Regions from separate parts of the Homo sapiens genome. Here region 2 is linked to region 1. Evidence: promoter capture Hi-C in 16 types of primary human blood cells and fetal thymus (Javierre and others, 2016). All regions are on one chromosome and are shown on one strand. Each heading gives the region's core, a stretch centred on a gene start or on the middle of the fragment in contact. The rest is flanking DNA. Distances are from core to core; before and after follow the strand shown. Region 1 holds the start of MYO5A (myosin VA). Region 2 overlaps MYO5A (myosin VA).

Region 1 (7,297 bases), core at 4,798-7,297:
TCATTATTTAAAAAAAAAAAAAAAAAGCTAAAAGTACCAGGAAGATCTAAAATATGTGGCAGCAGCAATTCTCATTAGAATCAGAATCTCTCTGTAATCTTTTCTGGACAATACACAAAACTTTCACACTTCAAGAAACAGTAACAAATTTCAAGAGGAAATAATGGGCATTTTGCTTTGTCAAGCTATGTAAAGAAGTATTTCTTAGTAGCATTCAAGTTCCACAGAGGCAGTCAAAATTTGTGATGAAACAGGAATTAATTTTCAGTTTCCAAGTCTGGAGCTACTGGCATTATTTCATACTACTCCTGCTCCTTCCCATCCTATATGTAATCCATCTCGGAGAGACCTGTCTCTCGGATTTATCCTCTTCTTTCCCACACCTTCTGCCCCTGCCTCAGTCCACCAGACCTTCACCACTTCACATTTTGTTTCCTGAAAGTTTCCTGGTCTCCCTGGTTCCCAGTTCTATTACTCATCCTGTTCAACATGCCTGAAAATGTGTTTACTTGTTTAACCACATCTTTATACCCTGCTTCGTCCCTACAAGTGGACTGATCATGCCAAACCATTATTTTCATTCCATCCCTCCCCTGCTTAAGTATTCATTCAACAAATATTCAATGAGCAGCTATTCTGTGTAACACTGGGCTAGGCTCTACAGGAGGTAAACAAAACAGCATGTCAGGGGGCTTAGAGTATCGTGGGAGTGGTAAACATATACACAAATACAGTAACCGTAATAAGACAGAAACATGTTTGGGACATTAAGACAGAGAAAAAGAGTACTAGTGGGAGTTCCAAATCTGAGCTATCAGCTGGATGTCAACTGAAATTAGAATTGATATAGAAGAAGTCGAATGTGAAAGACAAGAAAAAAGATACGGAGGTTTCCAAGCTGCGGAACTAGGAGAACAGCAAGTCGTTAACAGGCCTAGGAACACCAGGAGGAAATTCAAATGGAAAGGGCATGACAGGAGACTTGAGGACAGCTAACATCCTTGCCAAACTCCAAGTCAGGGCACATGATCAGAGATGAGATTTCTGTTCCTCTTTAAGATGTTGGAAGCAGTCTGAGAAATACAGTCTCGACATGAAAATATTAGAATTTCCAAGATCAGTAGTTTGAAGAGACAGTGCCATAGAATATAAAAGTGGATCTATCCCAGAAAAAATCTAGGCCATGTGGCTCCTGTATATATGAGAGGATATGTTGGGAATGGAAAGTTACACATATACAATCTACTGACCTTAAGAGCTGTTTCATCTAGGCAAGTTAACATGCTTTGCAAATGTGGAATTTTAGATTGTCTTTGCACTGTTACAATACTCAGCATCTCAGCACACATGGGAACCTCCTAATCAAACAGCTTCAGGTAAAAACAAAACAAAACACAAAAGTAAACAAAAAAATTAAAACTTTTTTAAAATTAAAAATAAGCCAGGCATGGTGGCTCATGTCTGTAATCTCAACACTTTGAGTGGCCGAGGCAGGAGAATCATTTGACCTGAGGAGTTAGAGATCAGCCTGGGCAACACAGCAAGATCCTGTCTCTGTAAAAAGTACAAAAATTAGCTGGGTTTGGTAGCACATGCCTGTAGATTCAGCTACCCAGGAAGGTGAGGTGGGAGGATGGCTTGCACCTGGGAGGTCGATACTGCAATGAGCCATGTTCACACCACTACACCTCAGCCTGGACAACAGAGTGAGACCCTGAACCTAAATAAATAAATAAATAAATAAATAAATAAATAAATAAAATAGGCTGGGTGTGGTGGCTCATGCCTGTAATCCCACACTATGGGAGGTGGAAGCAGGAGGATCACTTGAGTCCAGGAGTTTAAGACCAGCCTGGGCAACATACTGAGACTATCTCTAGAAGAAATTTAAAAATTAGCTGGGTGCATAGCTGTGGTCCCAGCTACTCACGAGGCTGAGGTGGGAGGACAGCTTGAGCCCAGGAGTTAAAGGCTACAGTGAGCCATGTTCATTTCACTGCACTCCAGCCTGGGTGACACAGTGAGACCCTGTCTCAAAAAAAATAAAAAATTAAAAAAAAAAAAACCCAGCTTCAAGTAATCTTGACCATCCTATAGCATGGATACCATGGTGCTATCCATGGTGTCTGGGAACATGATGACAGGAGGAATAGCATGCCATTCATTATAATGTTCCCGATAATCCTTCTAGGTCTAATTGATAAACCCTACTCCACAAATGTAGAATTGCTTCTAGTTACCAAAAGCACCTATGGATGATGTATGATATAGATATCCACTGGCAAGTCAAGACTAGCAAATATTTTCAAAATCAGAAGCAATGAGATATCATAGTTTCCTTTAATTCTTTTGGGAGCAAGGCAGGTTGACCACAAACACATCAACATACTACTCTGTGAATAAACCAAAAACCATTGAATAGTACACTTTAAATGGTGAATTATATGGTATAAGACACATATCTCAATAAAGCTGTTATTTTTAAAAATCAACAAAACATGTTTTAACCAAAATATTCGTTTCCAGACAAGTATCCCAAGAACCTAGCTATTGTCCTTAAAATGTTTATACTGCTGGAAAAACTTACAAAATGGAAGCCTTGTTAAATTGCTGTGACAAAACCATTACCATTCTGGCTAAAAAGAAGAAATTGAACAGTCTCTTGTCCTTCACTGTAATAGGAACTGATCTGTATCACACATTAAAATCTGCCCTTAAGATCTGAATGACATTTTTTTAAAGAGCACTTTTCAGATTTAACCACAATGTTAAATACCATAATTATGGCATATCACTAATACATCTTTCCTTGTAATCTATCCTAGAACTTCCTTCCTATAATCCTCTGCAAGGGGAAGATCCTTGTGCTTATCCACTGATAATACTTCTAATGATTTTCCTATTCCTCTAGTAATTACAATAGTAGTTTTTATCTCTGGAATCAGCCCAACCTTCCCCATGTCCCAACCCATTCCCTAACTTCTACTAATAAATATCATACCAGCTGTCTGCCTGCTGTTGAGGTAACAGCAGGTTATTTATGCCCCTATAGATTCAAAGTGGGTCAAGAATGTAAGAAGCAGACTATGAGCGTGTTGAGGGAAAGGACTGTATCTTGTTCATTGTTAAATCCTCTAAACATTAAGCAAAGTACCTGGCACACAGGATGCCTGATAAGTATTTCTGCTTGCCATTAAGCTAAGGCCCATTCACAAAAAGAATTTGCCAACAAATAACCAAGTAACCAGACTATTAATTAGGCATAAGTATATTTAGAAGAAGGCAGTGTAAGCCCCAACTTCAGTCTTGATCTCTAAGCCAGTCTGTCTTTATAATGACAAAGAGGTTAAAAAAAATTTTTTTTCAACACACGGTCTTGCTGTTTTGCCCAGGATGGAGTGCAGTGGCACAGTCATGGCTCACTGCAGCCTCAACCTCCCAGGCTCAAGCAATCTTCCTGCCTCAGCTGATCATCCTGCCTCAGCTCTCGAGTAGCTGGGACCGCAGGCGTGACTAACTCGCCCAGCTAATTTTTATTTATTTATTTATTTATTTTTTGAGACAGAGTTTCGCTCTTGTTGCCCAGGCTCGCGATCTTGGTTCACTGCAACCTCCGCCTTCCAGGTTCAAGTGATTCTCCTGCCTCAGCCTCCTGAGTAGCTGGGATTACAGGCATGCGCCACCACGCCCAGCTAATTTTCTATTTTTAGTAGAGACGGGGTTTTGCCATGTTGGTCAAGATGGTCTCGAACTCCTGACCTCAGGTGATTCACCCACCTCGGCAACGTGTTGGGATTACAGGCGTGAGCTACCGTGCCCAGCCTAACTTTTTAATTTTTTTGTAGAGACCAGGTCTCATTATGTTCCTCAGGCTGTTAAAAGGTAAATTTTAAAATAGATTGTGATAAAGCTGTGACAGAAGCCCAAAACTTTACCATTTACAAATCACAACATCTTTTCAATTTTTTCTCCCAAATTATCCTGGGGGAAAAAAGCATTCGAAATCCAACAACAATTTATTATCCACTCAGTCTCTAGTTAAGCAGCCTACTATTAGGTGACTCAAAGATGACTGCTCACCATATAGAACGGAGGGTGTCCAATCTTTTGGCTTCCCTGGGCCACACTGGAAGAAGAATTTTCTTTGGCCACACATAAAATACACTAATGATAAATGATGAGCTAAAAAAAAAATTGCAAAAAAAACACAACAACCCATGTTTTAAGAAAGTTTATGAATTTGTGTTGGGGCACATTCAAAGCCGTCCTGGGCCCACATGCGGCCCATGGGCTGCGGGTTGGACAAACTTGATGTAGAAGTGGAGGGGATGGGCTACACAAAGTAACCAAGGAATGTTTACAGACTGATTATCTCTTCATGTGAAAATGATTTTGATATTTCTTAATATCGACCTCATAAGTTCCTTATGAGGATTATGAGTTCATATTTTTAAAACGCTTAAAACAGTACCTGGCACATAGCAAGCACCATATTAAGTGTTTAAGTTACTTTTAATCAGTTTCCAATTGCATTCGTTCATATGTTAGAGATCTACAATGCCTAAAGAAATTACCAGGTTGAGAGAGAAGTTCCAACTGTACAGTCGTTAAATCTAAAACTAGAAAGAAAGAGGTCTCAGACAATGTTTCATGCAAGCTCATTTCATGGTTGAAGAAATTAATCATATATCTCATATTTGCAGAGAAATTCATAGGTTACAAAAAGCTTTCACAACGATTATTAAGTTTGATTCTCACAACAGCTTGTAAGGGATGCAAGGCAAGTATAATTAACTGCATTTACTCATTAGGAAATCGAACCAGAGATGTTAAGTGACTTGTCCAAGGTCACAGTTAGTAAGTCCCGGCTTGAATCCAGGTCTCTTGATGCCCAGTCTTCTTTCCTCTACAAAACACACTGCAACTTGGGCCCTGGACTTCAGTGACATTTGGAAACAATGATTCCAGTGATTACAGGACCCTAAATGAAAGTTCTGTTGCAAAAGCTAATGTGAAAAGGCAACTCTATTAACTGCATGTAGAAGTAATCAATATCTGGCAAAATATCTACCTACACATGAGTGTACAGTATAAAATGCCATGATTACATATATTCACAAAGGTCATCACAAATCTGCGCAGCACTCAAGTGACAGTTCTCCATAATATGTCATTCAGAGATCGCCAGACCCTGAGTATATTGATGTCAGTCTAAGAAAAGACTGCCACTTCCCTTAAACCAAACCCAGAAGGGAAAGGCTTGCCCCAGAGGATGGTAAAGACATGGAGCCTAACAAGGCTCTGCGGGATTACACGCAGGTTGCAAACTCCCAGCGATAAATGAGTACCGACCCTCCCAGCCGGTGAATCAGCTCGCGTTCATCCGGCAGCATCTTTCCCCGGGGCTCGCCACCCCCAGCGCAGCTAAACTGGGGAGCTAAAGGTGATACGGCCACCGTTTGCAGGATTCAAAATAACCTCACAGAAAGGCTAGCTGGCGGTAGAAGCGGCACTGCATACCAACACAAGACGTTATTTTAAGCGCGTGTCCCCACGAGAGAACCCATCCGATCTACTGGAGCAAGCATCTCCCACCCGCCGGGAATTTTCCAAAGCCAAGCAGGAGGGGAGGCACGCCCGCCCTGCTAAATCCACATGGGCCCCCTTTCCACTCCGAAGCCCGCTCTGCCCCCAGCTCGAGCAGCGCGGCAGGGGCCTGGGAGACCCCCGAGGCGGGCCACCTTCCGCCGCCTTCACCATCTCGCCCGAAAGAGGAAGGTGCCGCAGCGGGCGACCGGCTGGTAGGGCCGAGGGTTCTGAGGCGCTGAAGGGGATGGCGCTGGTGGGGCTCGCCTGGGCCCGGCGCTCCCGCCCCCTCCCCAGCCTGACAGCTGGCGGCGAGGGCCGCACAGCCCCAGTCCTCGACGCCGGCCGCGGGGTGCCTTACCTTTGTGTAGAGCTCCGACGCAGCCATGGCGGGCCCCGCGCGCCTACGCCCCCCGCCTGTGCGGAGGCCGCACCTCGCCTGGGCGGCCGCCCGAGCGGACTAGGAAGCGCCCGCAGCCGCCGGCAGGGAGCAGGGCAGGGCAGGGCCGGGCGGGGAGGGCCGCGCGGGGCGGGGCGGGGCGGGGCGCCTCAGGCGCTGGCCGCCCGCAGGGGCCTCGCCATCACTCCCGGGCTCGCCGCGAGCAGCCGCGAGCGCTCCACCTGCCCGGGGTCCTAGGGGTCGCCGCCGCCGCCGCAGCCACTTCGGCGGCCCGCGATGCTGCCTCCGCTGCCGCCGCCGCCACCGCCGCCGCCCTGTGCATTATGGGAGCGGGAGGAGGCTGCGCTCCAGCGCTGCCACCGCGGCTGCTCTGGGCTCTCTCGGGCTCACGCTGCCTCCCATCGGCTACGAGCACAGAGCATCATCATCATCAGCCTGCCAGCCGGCCCCGCCGCCGCCTCGCGCCCTGCCGAGGCCCGGAAACCCGCCCGGGACGTGAGCCCCGAGGGCGCGGCACACCCCGGGCGCCCCCACCCCGAAGCGAGCCCGGGGCCCTCTGCTGCGGAGCCTAGCTCCCGCGGTAGCGCAGCCATGGCACGGGCTGTTACTGTGTCCGAATAAACGATGGGAGCCTCCAGGCTGCTCCTCCCGTCCTTCCAAGCATTCCTAGGGAGAGGATTTAGGGGAAGCCCTCTTGAAAGACTGTAGAATAACCCAGGACTGTAGAAGAGCCTTGTCAGCAGCAGTGACCCGGGAGATGGGCAATGCAGGACCGGGAATTTCAGGTTAAGGTTGATCACCAAGGTCATTCCGAGCACCTCGATGTCTGCAGCAAAGTCGTCTCCCGATACCAGAGGGCAAGGGCCGCTTCTAAGCTACAGAAACTTAAGTGACTTTGAAACGAGATAGCCCGGGGACAGCCCAGGTGCCTCTTTCCTAGACCTGTGCGTTTGCGGAGATGCAACTACCCTTCTGTCCCAGCCTTCTTCCCGTCCTGTTCGCTGCTGGTGATTGTCGGCTCCATGGTGGCACCTGAAGTTTATCCGGTTGCCACCTGAAAATGACGGAGTACTTACATGGAAAATCTGTATTACAGTTTAACTCAACATCAAAAGGGCAAAGCCGCCCTCACTCTCCTCACGGTGATCCTTGAACATCCAGCACAAGAATGTGGTCTTTCTACTCCCAACCCTGCGCTGTCTTCATCCTCTATCTTCTCCCCACCCTCATTGTCGTTTCTGGTTGAATAATCTTCATTCTTTATTGTTGTCGTTGTTGTTGTTGCTGTTTTTGTTTGTTTAATCCCTGCCT
Region 2 (7,297 bases), core at 2,515-5,014, 170 kb before region 1:
CATATAAAAATTCTTCTCTATACGTCCCCCATAAAAATTAAGCGTAAAATACTTATATTGAAGCTTATTTACAATGTAAACATTCCATATTATATATTTTAATGTTTGTTCATTTATGAATGATGTACATGTCCCTGAAATTTTAAATTATTTAATCTTTTCTTACACTGTCATAGAACCTTTCATTCTAGAAATGAATATAATACTTCATTCATTATACCTAAAATATCACTTGGAAATCATTCCTTTGAGCCTTGAATGGGCACTTTTTGTTTAAAAGGAATCCTCTTATTAAAATGGGATGGTGTTTTGATAACTAGAACTAGCAAAAAAAAAAAAAAAAGAAAAAATGTGATGGGTTAACTCTTTAGACATTGGCTAATACTATATAAACAACTAGTTGATTGCTGGACAAGAGCAAAATTCTGTGGATAAGAATATTAAAATAGAAGGTGGAAGATCACAAAAGATTACATTTGAAAAATGCAAAATGACTCGAGGCATAAAGAGTGGTAATTATTTAAGAGTGCTCCCGATGGTACCCATTCTGAGCCCGGATGACACATCTAATTAAAGAGATGCTATCAAATTAAAGAGCTGTCCTCACTATACCCCATGAGCAAGAAGGAAGATTGGGCCATCTGTCACAGAGAAGTTTCTGAGGTTTTGTTTCGCTTTTTGCCTTAGTAAGGACTTTGTCACCCAGGGCTTTTCTAAGACAGCGAAGCTTTTTAACTGACCTAAAAAATAACACTAGTCTCTCATCTGAGGAAAATCAAAATAACTGAATTTATTCACAAAATTACCACCACTACAGGCCTGGCAGTCATTCTGAAATAACTCCTAATGATAGCTGAGAAAGTTCTGGTGACCCTTCCCAGAGGTGAAAGGTGTGAGAAAGCTTGACAGCAGAAGCAGAACAGGGATCATCAGTCAAGGGCTCCTAGAAGAGGTGCACACCAAGCAGGAGGAGCACTGGTTCCAAAGCAATGTCATCCCAGCCCATGAAGATCGGCAAGCGTGGGAGGGCTGCAAAACAAGTGGGACTGGCAGGCGAATTCTCCACAGAGCTACAGACTGGTTTCCGGCAAGCACACCCTTTTTATCATGGCTTCCCCCTACCAGCAGAGCTGCTAAAGTGGTACTACACTGGAATGGGCAGCTTGTAAATGTACTTCCCTCCGACTATTGCAAGTGAGTACTCCCACTGAGATCAACAGGATGTAATCCTAAAACCTTCCTATCTACTGAAGGCTCAGAAGTCCTAATTTTTAAATCTTCAAAGTCTAACTTTGTGGTATTCTCCAAAGATGGCACCAATGATTCTTCTCAACATACAAGTATTTCCTCCCAACAAGAGATGGAATCTATCCCCTTTGCCTTGAATCTGGGCTGACCTTGTGATTTTCTTTGATCAGAATGCAGCAGAACTAACACTGGGCCAGTTCTGGGCCTAGCTCTAAGAGGCCTGGCATCTTTTAGTCTGTCACTCTTAGAACCCACCTACCTGCTGCTGAACAGAGGCTACATGGAGAGGCCCAGGGAAGAGAAGCAAGCACTCTACAGAATGCAGCTACATGAGGCACTCCGACCACCACCACATGGAACAGAAGAACTCCCCAGTCAAATCCCACAGAATTATGAGTAATAATAAATTACTGTTTTTTAAAAAAAAAACACTAAAACTTGAGATCATTTATTACATAGCAATAGATAACTGGAAAAACCTCTATCCTGCTATATCCTGGCCATACTGTTATATCCATGGGCCCCAGCCAATGTTAGCTATAGATAGAAAAGGGATTGGAGAGTTGCAGTACAGAATCCCTGGATGGAAGTCAGTAGAATATAATGGCTTAAGAACATGAATTCTAAAGAGACAAGCCTCAGTTAGTATGCTGGATCTACCATTTATAAGCTGTGAACCTGGACAAATTACTTAGCCTTCTTGTATGTATGATTCCAATGATATGACATTCCAACTATGTAACATTTTTCTTCAAAATTAACAGAATGAGATGGCAGAAACTTCATTCTTAAGTAGAACTAAGACAAGAAAGGAAAGAATCACTCAATTTCTCTAGCTATTCTACCAGAAGCAGTCTATTTCTGATTTGGCCATTTTCAAAAAATATAATATAAAAATAGGACAGTTGTGCCTGAATTACCCATTATTGAAACTATATCATATTTTAAAAGATCTTAGAATTGGTTGGGAATAATCTAACTAAAAGTCACTATACTCTTGGAGTTACAGTAATACATCATTTTGGTTTCATACCACAAAACACAAAACATTAAAGCAGATTTCTAAACTATTTTCCATGCATTTTGTAGAAGAAAGTTACATTGGTAAAAACTGGCATAAAATAGAGGCATCAGTTTTGCTAAACTCTGGGGCACTGGTGTTTATAATATTCAAGGACAAAGGGCTTACTTTAAAAATAATTTACCTCTGTCTACAGCGGTGGTCCACAGATATAAAGTAAATAAATAATAAGTAAAAATAAAATAATTTACCTCAGTCTGAAATAAATTCCTGTAAACATATCATGTTAGGGGTAAAGAGAATTATAAAAATAAAATCTCACCATCAAAATTGCATTAAAAATTAAAATTAAAATTTGTATTGACAAAAAAATGCAATAGGTATGTATGTACACAGCACTTAAGTATACAAAAATGTAAATAAGTTTGTATCTACAAGTCACTTATGAAGAATAAATGATTCAAACAAATACTATGTTTATGGCCAATTGGAGTCTGCTTTGCAATGGAAATGTTCCTTGTTAACAACAGCATGCTCATATCCTACTTTCAGTGACAGATGTCTAAACTGTACCTCTGTCCTTGATGGAATGTCTTCCATTTCTGCAATTTCAGAGCTAAAGATATATTCAGACTCGTTGCTGCTGTGGGTGGAGTCTGTTCTCTTGTGTCCAGGCTTAGGCACATGCTGCAAGGCAAATAACCCAGGTATAATTAATGCAACATAATTAGTCTAGGCATAGTTAAGACAGCATCCACCTTGACTTGGTTCTTATCCCTACTTCCTGACTTGTATTGGTGCCCAAGTGATTTGTTCCATATTGTTTTGACCAAATAATTACAAAAAGGTCACCGCTTCAAAGAAAAAGGTACACTGGCATGACAGGACAAGAACAGTTGCAAAACCAAATGCCCAAATGAAAACCACTTCTGATTATTAGTCGAGTCCCCTTTGGGTGTTGAAAGCTTTGAGCGGTCAGTCACACTGGGTGAAGCAGTGCTCAGTGAAGCACTGGGTGAAGCTTCCAAGCACTGACTTTTAGTGCCATAATCAAATAAAACTTACAAAAACCTCATAAAATATATTGAAATGGCATGCACAATCATTTTACTGCATGGTAACTAGGCATAAATGGTTTAAAAGAAAGATGAAGGAGTTCACACAGGCAGCTCTAACTTCTGTCACTTTAATACGTGAAGTTAAATCTTTGGAGTGAGCAGTGGGCAGGATGGACAGTACACGGGAGGTAAGAAAGCTGCTCTAGTAATCCTCTGAAGAGCCCTCGGTTATTACCTCAGGGCATCCAGGTGGCATTTTTATGACATGTAATACCTAGGAAATTAGTGTTGAGAAAGTTCAAGAGGAATAGAAAAGTTTAGCAACGACACACCCTTCCCTCCTGTAGGAGAAGGGGTTAGAGAATAACTTGAGGGAAGAAGGAATTAAAAGGCTGGGCTCTTAGCATGTCCCCAGCAGGAGAGGTGGAAAAGATCCAGTGGCTTAATCTTGCAGTGTTACAGTCCTGAGGGCTTCACAAAGGCCTCTGAGAGCTTTCTCATCTGTCCAGTTTTCTTTGTACCTTTCCCCAGCTGCTGGAAAAGAGCTAGAAGCCACAAAGAGCTTCTTTGTCTCTTCCCTTCCAACACCCAGGCTTATGGAGAGCAGACTCATCCAGAGGCACGTAAAAGTCTCCCAGGCCAACCCAACCTGTACTGCAATGTGAAGGGAAGATCCAAGAACACCAGCACCTCTGAAACGATCCAGAAGCTGGGGTGCACACTAAAGGGGACAATCATCACACATGAAGTCAAAGGCACTCAAATTCACTGTCTGTTTACAGACACAGGCACTCTTGCTTAAAGTTTCCAGCCCAAGCCCACAGTTGTAGGAATGGCATTTATTTAATAAACTGGTTGTATCACTAAGAAAACCAGGTAGTCCAGATAAACACCAGGACAAAGATTTTTAATAAGCTTATTAAAAATGAGAGAGATCCCTGTCTTCCCACATATGTCTATCATTATACAAGGAATACCTTAAGGCATTAATAGAAGCAACATTGCTTTTTGCTATTTAATGTAACTTTTGGATACAGGGCAGTGATTAAGTGCTCTGGATCTGAAACGAGAGAGAGTTAGGCAGGAATACCAGCTCTTCCACTAGCTGGTATTTTCATCATCAGGAAAAAAAGGGTACTAATTTCTATCTCATAGGGTCTGTGTGAGGATTAAATAAGAGTGTGGAAGTAAAGAGTTTGGCTTGGCATAACAAGCATTCAATGAATGTTAACTTCTGCTGCTGTGATTGTTAGGAGATTGCAGTGATTCAGCAACTTCCTTGTTGGTAACTTTTCAGTTCTCTGTTTTTAGGATTTTGTTCCCCCGTTTATACGTTTTTCAATTACAAGGATATATATTTGACTGGATCATCACGTTCTCCTTCAAGATCTGCACCTCCCTCCTCTTCTGCTCCTGATTTCTCCCATGATTCCTTCTTTTCCAGAACATGTTTTATCCCTTTGTCAAGACTAACGACCCCATGATTGACATGCTGGTTTCCCTCCCCTCTCTGGAATTAATTTATCTTTAAACACTTCATAAACCTGGATGCCCATGCCTCATGATCTTTTCATCATTGGCTTGAAACTCCTTAGCCCTGGATTGGTCCTTCCTCTTTGCCTCTGCCCCTATATTCCCTGGACAACCGAATGTTCTTGGAGAAAAATGCTACAGTACTTCTTGTACTAGGGCCAACAACTCTAGAGGCTGGCAATGAGTGACACTATTAGTGTTCTTTGGCCCATGTATCACATAGGTTATGGGAAGCGCTGGAGGCAGTGTATCAAGTCCCCTCCCTAGAGTTTCCTCCATTCATATGACGACTCTGTTTACAACCAAATGCTTCATTAGCTCTGGATTGAAGCAGTGAGAGTGTCATTTACAGAACAGCGTCAGTCTAATATTAGTCAAGTACTCATCTGTTAGCTGTTTAGTTGTACCTAAACATTAAAATAAGATATTGTCACTAATATTTTAATTGTCATGGGTTAAAAGATCAAGTTTTTTATTCTCTGCAATTCTGGGCAAATATTTTCTGCAAAAACTGTCATCTTGATTATATCTGGAGCTAGGAAAAGGAGATCTAGTGAAGAAATGAGTGGGAAGCAAGTGAGCTCTGATCTCCCTTCCTCTGCTTTCTCCTTTTCCCTTCCTCTGACCATTTTGTCTCCCAAGAGGAATGACTGAGTCACAGGCATACAATGGAGAGGACACATGACTGAGAAATAAGAAATTGAGCAACTAAAACTACCTCTAGAGCACTGCTGGGAACAGATGGAGAGCAGGCAGACTTGCTTAGCAGGAAGGAGGAGCCGTGTCAAGCTGCTGGAGGAGGCGTCACTGGAGGACCTTTCTAGAAATGGCCACCTCCTCGACTAAAGAGACCCATGACCTCCTCACAGATGGATATCTCTGGAATATGCTCAGAGAGGGATACATGTATGGCACCTGCTTCTCTCATTTTATTTTCTGAAATTCATATTGCATGCACCATTAAAGAATCCAAGAAATTCTCCAGAAAAGACATTTGTTTATCTCTGTTTAACCTAGTAGATTACCACATTTATTTTACCTAAGAATTTCTTTTCCAATCCCACTTATTAACATCCCAAATAACTAGGGGGTCTCAGAAACACCTACTGGGTTATAAAGCTTAGCTCTAACCATAACTGAAACAGAGATTAACCATAAATGTTGGCATTGTCATCTAATAAATAGAGTGAACAAAAACACACCAAAGAATGGAACTGGGGAACATGAACACTGAAAAAGAAGAAAAGGATTCAAGAGAAAGCTAAGAATTACAGAATGTGAAGGAAGAAAGGTTTCAATGGGACCAACGGTAGCACGGTGATCTAGGAAGATGAAGCTTAACAAGGGTCTTTAGATTTGTCAATTATAAGAACAGTTATAATGGTGACTTGCATCTACTTCTAATTTCTCTTTGTCACACATAAATCAGAGTAGTGAGGGTTGAAATAATGGTCCAATGTGGGATTTATATTAGCTTTTTGGTCTCTTTTAGACAGGATTTTCTCATCTGCAAGGTGATGAGAGCCTATCTTTTGTATTACACAATCTCTTTTATTTTGACTTTTAAGTGTCATATTGTAATGAACTTTGTCAGTAGGTCCAGATAGAAGCAAAATTTGAAGAAAATACTCTGCTCCACAGATACTGAATTATCTGGCTTTTTATGAGATATTTCAGGGCATTTCTGGTCATTTGTATAATTAGGTTACCTTTAAGGCTGGTACTTGTAGGGATGCTTGGGAACTCTTTGTTTCCTGATAGCAGGATACATGGAATGGGGAGGATGTGCAGAATTATTACAAGTATGAAAGGTACATTGGCAAATGCAGAAGAGTCCTTGAAATAGATAATTCATTACAAATGGAGTCTGAATTTTCTTTTCATAGGAATATATCTTCAAAATTATAATCAAAACCAGTCTACATGTAAATTTTACATTAGGCCATTCAATATATAAAACAAAGTCCAACTGGCCGGGCGCAATGGCTCATGCCTGTAATCCCAGCACTTTGGGAGGCCAAGGTGGGTAGATCATGAGGTCAAGAGATCGAGACCATCCTGGCCAACATGGTGAAACCCCATTTCTACTAAAAATACAAAAAATTAGCTGGGCATGGTGGTGGGCACCTGTAGTCCCAGCTACTCGGGAGGCTGAGGCAGGAGAATCACTTGAACCTGGGAGGCGGAGGTTGCAGTGAGCCGAGATTGTGCCACTACACTCCAGCCTGGTGACACAGGGAGACTCCATCTCAAAAAAAAAAACAAAAACAAAAACAAAAATCCAACTTTACTGACTTTATACTATCACATAGCCCAGTCTTTAAACTGTTTGACTTTACCGAAGTACTTGTGAATAAAATTATATGATTTCTAAGATTTGCTTTAAAATAATCCAATCCATTGGATGGAGTGGGTTGGGGAGATGGAATGGGAGGTG

Evidence for each region. The method cuts DNA at HindIII sites, captures the fragments that hold promoters and counts their contacts. A CHiCAGO score of 5 or more calls a contact.
Region 2: a fragment that was not itself captured here is called in contact with the fragment with the promoter of MYO5A in region 1 in 1 of 17 cell types (total CD8 T cells); the score reaches 5.2 in total CD8 T cells.

The regions. Positions count from the first base shown.
Region 1 is chr15:52,522,833-52,530,129 of GRCh38, forward strand. It overlaps MYO5A (myosin VA), which reads right to left and starts at 6,048. Exons shown (of 42, transcript NM_001382347.1): 1 at 5,948-6,048. The coding sequence starts at 5,974. RefSeq lists a silencer at 5,698-6,577. The HindIII fragment of the contact is 12,943 bases long and covers 4,725-7,297 here.
Region 2 is chr15:52,357,126-52,364,422 of GRCh38, forward strand. MYO5A (myosin VA) reads right to left here. Exons shown (of 42, transcript NM_001382347.1): 25 at 2,843-2,956. Among named protein-coding and RNA genes, the nearest start is that of MYO5C, 65 kb to the left of the region's middle. The HindIII fragment of the contact is 952 bases long and covers 3,289-4,240 here.